Regions from separate parts of the Homo sapiens genome. Here region 2 is linked to region 1. Evidence: promoter capture Hi-C in 16 types of primary human blood cells and fetal thymus (Javierre and others, 2016). All regions are on one chromosome and are shown on one strand. Each heading gives the region's core, a stretch centred on a gene start or on the middle of the fragment in contact. The rest is flanking DNA. Distances are from core to core; before and after follow the strand shown. Region 1 holds the start of PLA2G3 (phospholipase A2 group III). Region 2 holds the start of MORC2 (MORC family CW-type zinc finger 2).

The links. Contacts are between HindIII fragments. The CHiCAGO score rates a contact against its expected background, and 5 or more counts as called.
Region 2: a contact is called between the fragment with the promoter of MORC2 here and the fragment with the promoter of PLA2G3 in region 1, in 1 of 17 cell types (endothelial precursors). The highest score is 5.0, in endothelial precursors.

What each region holds. Positions count from the first base shown.
Region 1 is chr22:31,138,252-31,142,142 of GRCh38, forward strand. It overlaps PLA2G3 (phospholipase A2 group III), which reads right to left and starts at 2,257. Exons shown (of 7, transcript NM_015715.5): 1 at 1,590-2,257; 2 at 416-548; 3 at 25-159. The coding sequence starts at 2,103. RefSeq lists enhancers at 1-43, 1,761-2,319, 2,320-2,879. The HindIII fragment of the contact is 15,707 bases long and covers 1-3,774 here.
Region 2 is chr22:30,967,524-30,971,395 of GRCh38, forward strand. MORC2 (MORC family CW-type zinc finger 2) reads right to left here and starts at 1,251. Exons shown (of 26, transcript NM_001303256.3): 1 at 299-1,251. The coding sequence starts at 366. It overlaps TUG1 (taurine up-regulated 1), which reads left to right and starts at 1,742. Exons shown (of 3, transcript NM_001396518.1): 1 at 1,742-3,872. The coding sequence starts at 1,834. The coding sequence ends at 2,295. RefSeq lists an enhancer at 1,653-1,982 and a silencer at 2,013-2,262. The HindIII fragment of the contact is 3,441 bases long and covers 455-3,872 here.

The DNA.
Region 1 (3,891 bases), core at 1,007-3,506:
GGACATGAGGGGGTGGCCACGTACCCGCCCCACCAGTACCACGCCACACACGCCTCCTGCTCCTCCAGCACAAAGCAGGGGATCTCCAGCACGTTGAAGAAGGCCACGCCCACGATGTCCGAGATGGAGTCGTGCTGATTCTGTAGGCATTGCTGAAACCTGCCCCAGAACAGATACCCAGGACCCTGGGGCATGGAGGGCTGTCTGGCTCCTCCCACAGCCCACTGTGCCACTACCAGCTGGGTGGTTTGGGGTCCAAGCATCCCTTCTTTCTGGCCTCAGCTTTCCTACCTGCACTGTGGGGTCCAAGCTGGCTGAGCTTTAAGATCCTCTGCAATCCCAATGTCTAGTTACCCAGGAACTGGGTAACTCTGCCCTGTCCCTGAGCTCTGGGCCCTCGCTGCCTGCCACCAACCTGGTGTCACAGTCACAGTGGGAGATGGTGTGGAATCGGTAGTTTCGGATGCCATAGTTGTACTGCAAGGGTGAGATGTTCTGTGGGCAGCGGTCATGTTCCCGGCAACAGAGATCAGGTCCCTGGAAGACCCCTGCAGGGAGGGGAGGGGAGAGGGCACCAACTCAGCAGGGTCCTAGGCATCATGCACCAGCTATGCCCCCCTGGTAGGAAGAGGGCAGAGACCTGGTTCTCACCCCAGCCCTGACACAAACGCCATGAGGGTCCTCAGACCAGTCACTCTCCCTTCTGTGGGACTCTCAGAGTTTCAAAGCTGGAAAAGAGAAGCCAAGCTGCAGCCTCTGTTGGGCAACTCTAAATGCCAGGTAGCCCACCCATAAATACATGGAAAGGTCTTCCTCAGGGGAATTGGAGTCTGCCTCCAGAGTTCCCAAGCCCACGCCCCAAATAAAACTCCAAAATTATGAATGTGTGTATGATGGAATGGCAAACAGGCAGGGTGCAACCTTTCTCACTGGCACAAGGAGGTGTCGCCAGGATGCCAACCTACTCTGACTCAGGTGCCAAGCCCTCCCCCAACCCTGCACACAAACGCACAGACATCTGTACTGATAGTGCAAGAAATTCATCTATGTTTATTACCATCTAAAAAATAGCACTCTTTACTAAGCATTTCCCACATGCCTGGCACTTCCCACATCCAGGTTCACAGCCAGCCCTGAAAGGGAGGTATCACCTTCATTTTACAGGTGAGGAAATAAGTCCAGAGAGGGGAAGTGACTTGCTCAGCTTGTATGTGCTGAGTTGGGATTTGAACCCAGGCCTTTCGTCTCAGCATCCATTCCACTGGGCACCCCGTGCCCACAAAGCCTCCTCCTGGGTAATGGCTTTTTGGCTCAGTTGACCCTGGATCCTCCCCCAGCCTGCCCAGTCCCTCGGATGGCATTTAATGAGGACTCCCAGGTTTGAATAAGACTTTCCCCAACCGTGACCTCATTTAAGCACCCCATGATGAGATTCGTGATTGCCCCCACTTTACAGATAAGGAAATTGAGGTTCACCATGGTCAAGTCACTCCCCCAGGGACACACAGCCTAGGAGAGTAAGGGCTGGGGCTGAAGAAACCTTGCTTCCCCGATCGGACCCCCCAGCCCACACACCCCTCATGGCTCACCCAGCTCCGAGGAGTTCCCAGCAGAATCTCCAACTCCACACCACAGTGTGCCAGGCATGGTCCATCCTCTCTTCTCTCGCTGGTGCCCTCCACCAGGGACTCCACTCTGCCCTGCTGCTCGCTTCTTCCTGGCCCCTGCTGGACTCTCCTCAAGCGCTCGGCATGCCTCCCACTGACTCTGAAGAGTGGCCAGTGCTCTCTGCAGCTCGGGTCCGGGGGTGTGGATGAAGGAGCCCCAGGCAGTCTCATGAGCACAGAGAGCACCGTAGGCTGCGGTGAGCTCCGGCTCATCCTCCCAGCTACATGACTGCAGCCTCCTATGCGCATCCCAGCGGGCATGGATCAGGGCCAGTCCCTGAGCATCCTTGGCCAGGAAGCTCAGGTACCCCAGTGGGTTGCCAGGGACGGCCTTGGTCAAGTGGCAGGAGGTCCTGTACCAGCGGAGGGCAGGGGAGCCCCCCAGGGCCACCCCCAGGAAGCCCAGCATCCCAAACAGCCCTGCCTGAACCCCCATTCTGCACTGGCCCAGTCCAGTCAGACAAAGCCCCTGGGATGCCTGCCCTTGGTGGCCCCACCAGGCGGCAGCTGAGCAGTGGAACGGAAGCGGAGCCCAGCAGGCCCGGTGCGGCGGGACCAATGAATGGAGCTGCGGGAGGAGGAGGAAAGAGGCTGGAGTATGGGGTGATCTTGGGCTTGTAACCGAATCCACCAGCCGGGCAGGACGCTGATTGGCTGAGGAGTGCACTTGCCAGGGCCCACGCCCCCATTCTGCCTGCCTTCTCAGCACCATCCAGTCACCTGCTGCCAGCCCTGCCTAGATTGGGACTATGGGAGCCAAAGCCCTAAGCTGTGGGATGGGGACCAGGCTGGGGCTTTCACATCTCCTTGAAGGGAAGGAAAAGGGTTCAGGAGCTTGGAGGAGTCCCTTAGAACCCACCCTTCTCACCCTTACCACAGCGGTGGCTGCCACATCCACCTCCATCAGGCTGGCAGGGGGCCATGGGCCTCTGCCAGGGCTGGGTGAAGGAAGGGCTGGGGCTCTGAAGCTACCACCCTGGGAGTTCCCAAGGCTTCTGGGAAAGGGAGTGCCACCTGGGGTGCTCCCCTGCCAAGTCCTGGTTCTTAGAAAGGCTCTCGGCATACTCAGGGGACAGAGCCCCAGGGCTCCCCGCTTCCTAGGACTCCAAGCATGGGCCTGGCCTTGCAGCAACCCTCCTGGTCTGATAACTGGGGGAGACGCAGCGGGAACAGGCCTTGAGAGCCACACAGGGCAGGGCTGATGCTCTGGATTTGAAAGAACTATGGTCCCTAGAGTGGCAGAGAGTGGCCCAGGGTGTATGTCTGTGGCCACCTCCATCCCTGGCCACCTGGGGGGACACAGCAGGCATCATGTGTGCCTCATGAGACAGGAATCTCTCCATCAGGAAGGGGCTATACCCAGGTATTGTTCCTGGATCCCAAAGCCCAGCTTCCAACCATCTAGTGAGGCCAGGGTGCTTACACCCATAGTGCAGATGAAGAAACTGAGGCTCAGTGAGGGTGGGAAAACCTCAGGTGACAGGCTCCAGCTGGGGAGGGCTTAGAGGATGGGAATGCAGCGCTTGGGGATCTGGATGGGAGTCAGGGCTGGCCAGGACAGTGACTTGTCTGTCTTCCATCTGCCCATTAGCCTGCTGCTTCTCCAGCCTCCCCCTGCCCCAGGCTCCATCTGAGTCTCTTCCAGGGGATGAGCCCCAGTGAGGTAAAGCCAGGGGCAGAGCTGGGGAAGGAGAGCTCACTGTGTGGCAGAGGGGGAAGGGGGCTGCAGGGTGGGCAGGTCCATCTCTGTAGCTTCAGAACCAGCCTGGGCCTGTGGCTCAAAGCATCATAGCTGGGAACAATGAAGAGAAGGGAAAGAGGGTAGGGCTAGTCCAGGGACCAAGCGCCTTCTTGCCAGAGGTTGAGAAAGGGGGTGTGGAATACAGCGAGTGGTGGCAGAGGAGGTAGACCTGGGGTCCCCAAGGGCAAGGATGTAGCTGAACAAAGGTGAGTCCTTCTGTGAAGAGTTGTGATGTTTGAAAAATCATCATGCTGAGACTTCCTCCCATCATAGGAACTGCCACCCACCTCTGCCCCCTTTTCCACATTGCTGAGCCCTTCCCTGCCCATCACCTGGGGAGGCTGGGAGGTAGGATACGAGGAGCCAAGCTTTCGAGGTCAGACAGGTCCAGCTTAGGTTTCCACACAGACCCTAGGCTTGGAAATCTTAACTTCTCTGAGTCTTAGTTTCCTCATCTGTATCATGGGCATAATCACAGTAGTC
Region 2 (3,872 bases), core at 1-2,500, 170 kb before region 1:
TGTTGGATTCCTATAAACACTTGAATGAAACAACTCAACATATTGACTTCAAATAACTAAAGTTTGCATTTAGAAAATTTTGATCCAATAAACAAAAATCAGATTCTTCTGGATTAGCAACAAGTATTTCACTGATCTCAGTTCTTCAATACAGAGCTCAAGATATCCAGTGACACATTTCACTCCAGTGGGATACATCTCAAAAAGTGAAAAAGCAAAATTTTCTGGGGAAACGATTTCCATATAATATCAAGGAACGAGTTACTGGTTACCTCAGTGGCACCTAGAGGATACTTACGAATTTGTGTGCAGATATTCAAAGGTTAGCTGAGCTCGATTCAGACTGCTGTAATTTGTGAAAGCCATGACTGCAATAAGGTCTCCAGCCCTTCACCCGCTAACTGGGAAATATAACCTTATAATGATATCGATTTCCCAGGATTCTGTCCAGTAAAGCTTCAGTAAGTCTGTGCTCCTTAATGACAGTTAAAGTAACCTAGTAGCTATCCAAAATATATGCAGAGATGTTTAAAACTACAATTTCTTCAAGTGTTTTTTTTTAATCTTCTCAATGATTTATGATGTAATATTTTGGAAGGAACTATGTCATAAATCTGTAGCTTTAAGGAGCTTTTAGCATTAAGTTGCGATAGCTCAATTCAGACAATCTGAGTCTCGTGTGGATGGTCCTGAAGGAGATGGTCCTTGAGTGGGTGGTTTATGACTGCTCCATCTTCATGTTCTTCCAGCCTTTTTTGGTTCCCCGAAATTTCCTGTCAGGAAATTTACCAACGCGGAAATTTACCCACTTCTGTCAGAAAACTGATCAGCCATGTCTTCGCCACACGTGATGCCAGGATTCTTAAACAGGCCCAAGACCGGAGACCAAGATGTCGACGGAGTGTTATATGGCGCAAGTTGCAGCTTCACCACCTCCCAAGTGAAAAAGCTCCTAGGCACTCACGATTTCTTTTTTCAAAGCCGGACCAAACCCAGTTCAGGGTGGTGGTCAGATTACCTCACACTTGGCCCACATAAACACCTCACAAATGACCCGCCCACAGCACCTCGGGCAGGCCGCGCCCCGCCCCCACGTCCCTCAGACAACAGCCTCAGCCTCCCAGGCCCTTCCCGGGCCTCGGTCCCGTGGCCGCCTCCCCACGAAGAGGAGCTACTCCCGGCTTCCAAGGACCGGATCGAGGGCAGTGGCGAGCGCACCACCTGACCGGGCACTACCCGGATCTCACAACTGCCTTTGTCCCTCCCCGCGGAATTGGAACCCAACAGCCGCAGAGCGCTCTTGGAACCATGTGCTGCTGCCGCCTCCGCCGCCGCCGCCGCTGCCTCCGCCGCCGCCCGCGCGCCGCCCGCGCGCCGCGCTAGTTGAGATGGTGACAGGATTCAGCAACACGAAATTCGGCGTTTAGAGCTGCTCTGCCGCCGCCGTCACAGACACCACAGCCACCGCTTTGTCTCCGATAGTGCACACAGCCCCGGCCACCTCGCACACTCCCCGACGCCCCAAGCCCCCGAGGCCTCCGCGGAGCATTCAGCCAATCACAAAGCTGCAGCTCCTCCCGCCCCCGCCCTGATGTACAGCCTCCTGATTGGCGGGCTGCGTGTCCCCATGTGACCGGATCTTGGTTGGCCGGTCCCGCCCCTGTCACGTGACAGCGTGCGCCTCTCTTCCTGCTTTCCTGACCCTCTCCGCCATTTAAAGAAACAGTACCGGGGGCGGGCCGAGCGACGCAGCCGGGACGGTAGCTGCGGTGCGGACCGGAGGAGCCATCTTGTCTCGTCGCCGGGGAGTCAGGCCCCTAAATCGAAGAAGCCCTGGCGCGCCCTCCCCCCCTCCCGGGTCTGGTAGGGCGAAGGAACGGGCGTGCGGTCGATCGAGCGATCGGTTGGCGGCTCTTTCTCCTGCTCTGGCATCCAGCTCTTGGGGCGCAGGCCCGGCCGCCGCGGCGCGCGCCCGGTGGCCGTTGGCGCTCGCGCCGCGTCTTTCTTCTCGTACGCAGAACTCGGGCGGCGGCCTATGCGTTTGCGATTCGACGAGGAGTCGTCCGGGTGGTCGGCGGCGGCGGGCAGCTGCTCCGCCCCGCTCCGGGGGAGGCGGCGGCGGCAGCGGCCGCGGGATTTGGAGCGGCCGGGGAGGCGGGGGTGGCCGGGGCCGGCTTGGAGGCCTGGCGCCACCCTTCGGGGCCTGCAAGGACCCAGTTGGGGGGGCAGGAGGGGGCCGGAGGATGGTTGGTTGTGGGATTTCTACTTTGCCTTTTCCTCCTTATGCCGCCTTAGTGAGGGGCGGGAGCTCTGGCGGCAGCCCCGGGGTGGGGAGACGAGCTCCGGAGTCGGAAGAGCTGGGTTTTCTTCCGGGCCTAGCCACCAGTTGGCGGAGTGACCTTAGGCGAGTCACTCTGTAATTTGTCTGCGCCTCAGTTTCCTCCTCTGCCTATCAATGTGTGTGGGGTTGAAATCGCTTTGTAAACTATAAAGCGTGGGTGTACGTAAAGGATGGTTATTGTTTATAATTTTTTTTGAGTTGTAAGAAAACTTAGCAGTTCCCCAATCCTTGGGTTTTGAACCTGGGAACCTTGGATTGGAGTTGGGGATCCCCAAACTTCCTGAAATTGTGGGAATGTGCGGTTTGGGGGAATGATGGGAATTTGTGGGAATGTGCGTTTTAGGGGAATGATGATCCATCGCTAGCAAGTTTTCCAAGGGGGCTGTGACCCAGAAGAGTTAAGAATCACAATTTCTTCATGCTACAGAGAGGAAACTGAGGCCTAGATGTCATTTGGGACCCTTCACAACCATTTTGAAGCCCTGTTTGAGTCCCTGGGATATGTGAGCTGTTTCTATGCATAATGGATATTCGGGGTTAACAACAGTCCCCTGCTTGGCTTCTATTCTGAATCCTTTTCTTTCACCATGGGGTGCCTGAAGGGTGGCTGATGCATATGGTACAATGGCACCCAGTGTAAAGCAGCTACAATTAGGAGTGGATGTGTTCTGTAGCATCCTATTTAAATAAGCCTATTTTATCCTTTGGCCCGTCAACTCTGTTATCTGCTGCTTGTACTGGTGCCTGTACTTTTCTGACTCTCATTGACCATATTCCACGACCATGGTTGTCATCCATTACTTGATCCTACTTTACATGTCTAGGCTGTGTGGTTGGTGGTGAATAGGCTTCTTTTTACATGGTGCTGCCAGCCCAGCTAATTAATGGTGCACGTGGACTTTTAGCAAGCGGGCTCACTGGAAGAGACTGAACCTGGCATGGAATTCCTGAAGATGTTTGGGGTTTTTTTCTTTCTTAATCGAAAGTTAACATTGTCTGAAAAGTTTTGTTAGAACTACTGCGGAACCTCAAAATCAGTAGATTTGGAAGTGATTCAAAGCTAAACTTTTTCCTTGGCCCTCCTTGTGTTCTAATTGCTTGCAAGTGTAATACTAGGATGTCCAAGATGCCAGTTTTTGCTTCTTTGTTAGTTGTCAGCTGCTTTTATCAAATTTCAGGCCATTATCCAACAAACACTATAAAAATGTTTGAACAATTGGATTTCAAACATTTTCGTTTTGTGGAGTGGTGCTCACCAAGTGGTACAGCCCTAAGCAAGTGAACACAAACACATTTAAGTGTATTTTGTCTGATTAGATGTTAGCCAGTTATGCTATTTCATTCAAATGTCTGAAAAAATCAATTGACTATTCCCTTTTCCTAAAGGGCAGAGACAGATAATCTCACTTCCAGAGAAATGACTTGGAGAAAAAAAAGTGTTGGTCTTTTTGCTCTTTTGTAATTAAATCCGGATGTACCTCAAAAGACTTAAGACTGTGGTGATAAGATGCTTTCCTCAGCAGAAAGGAGG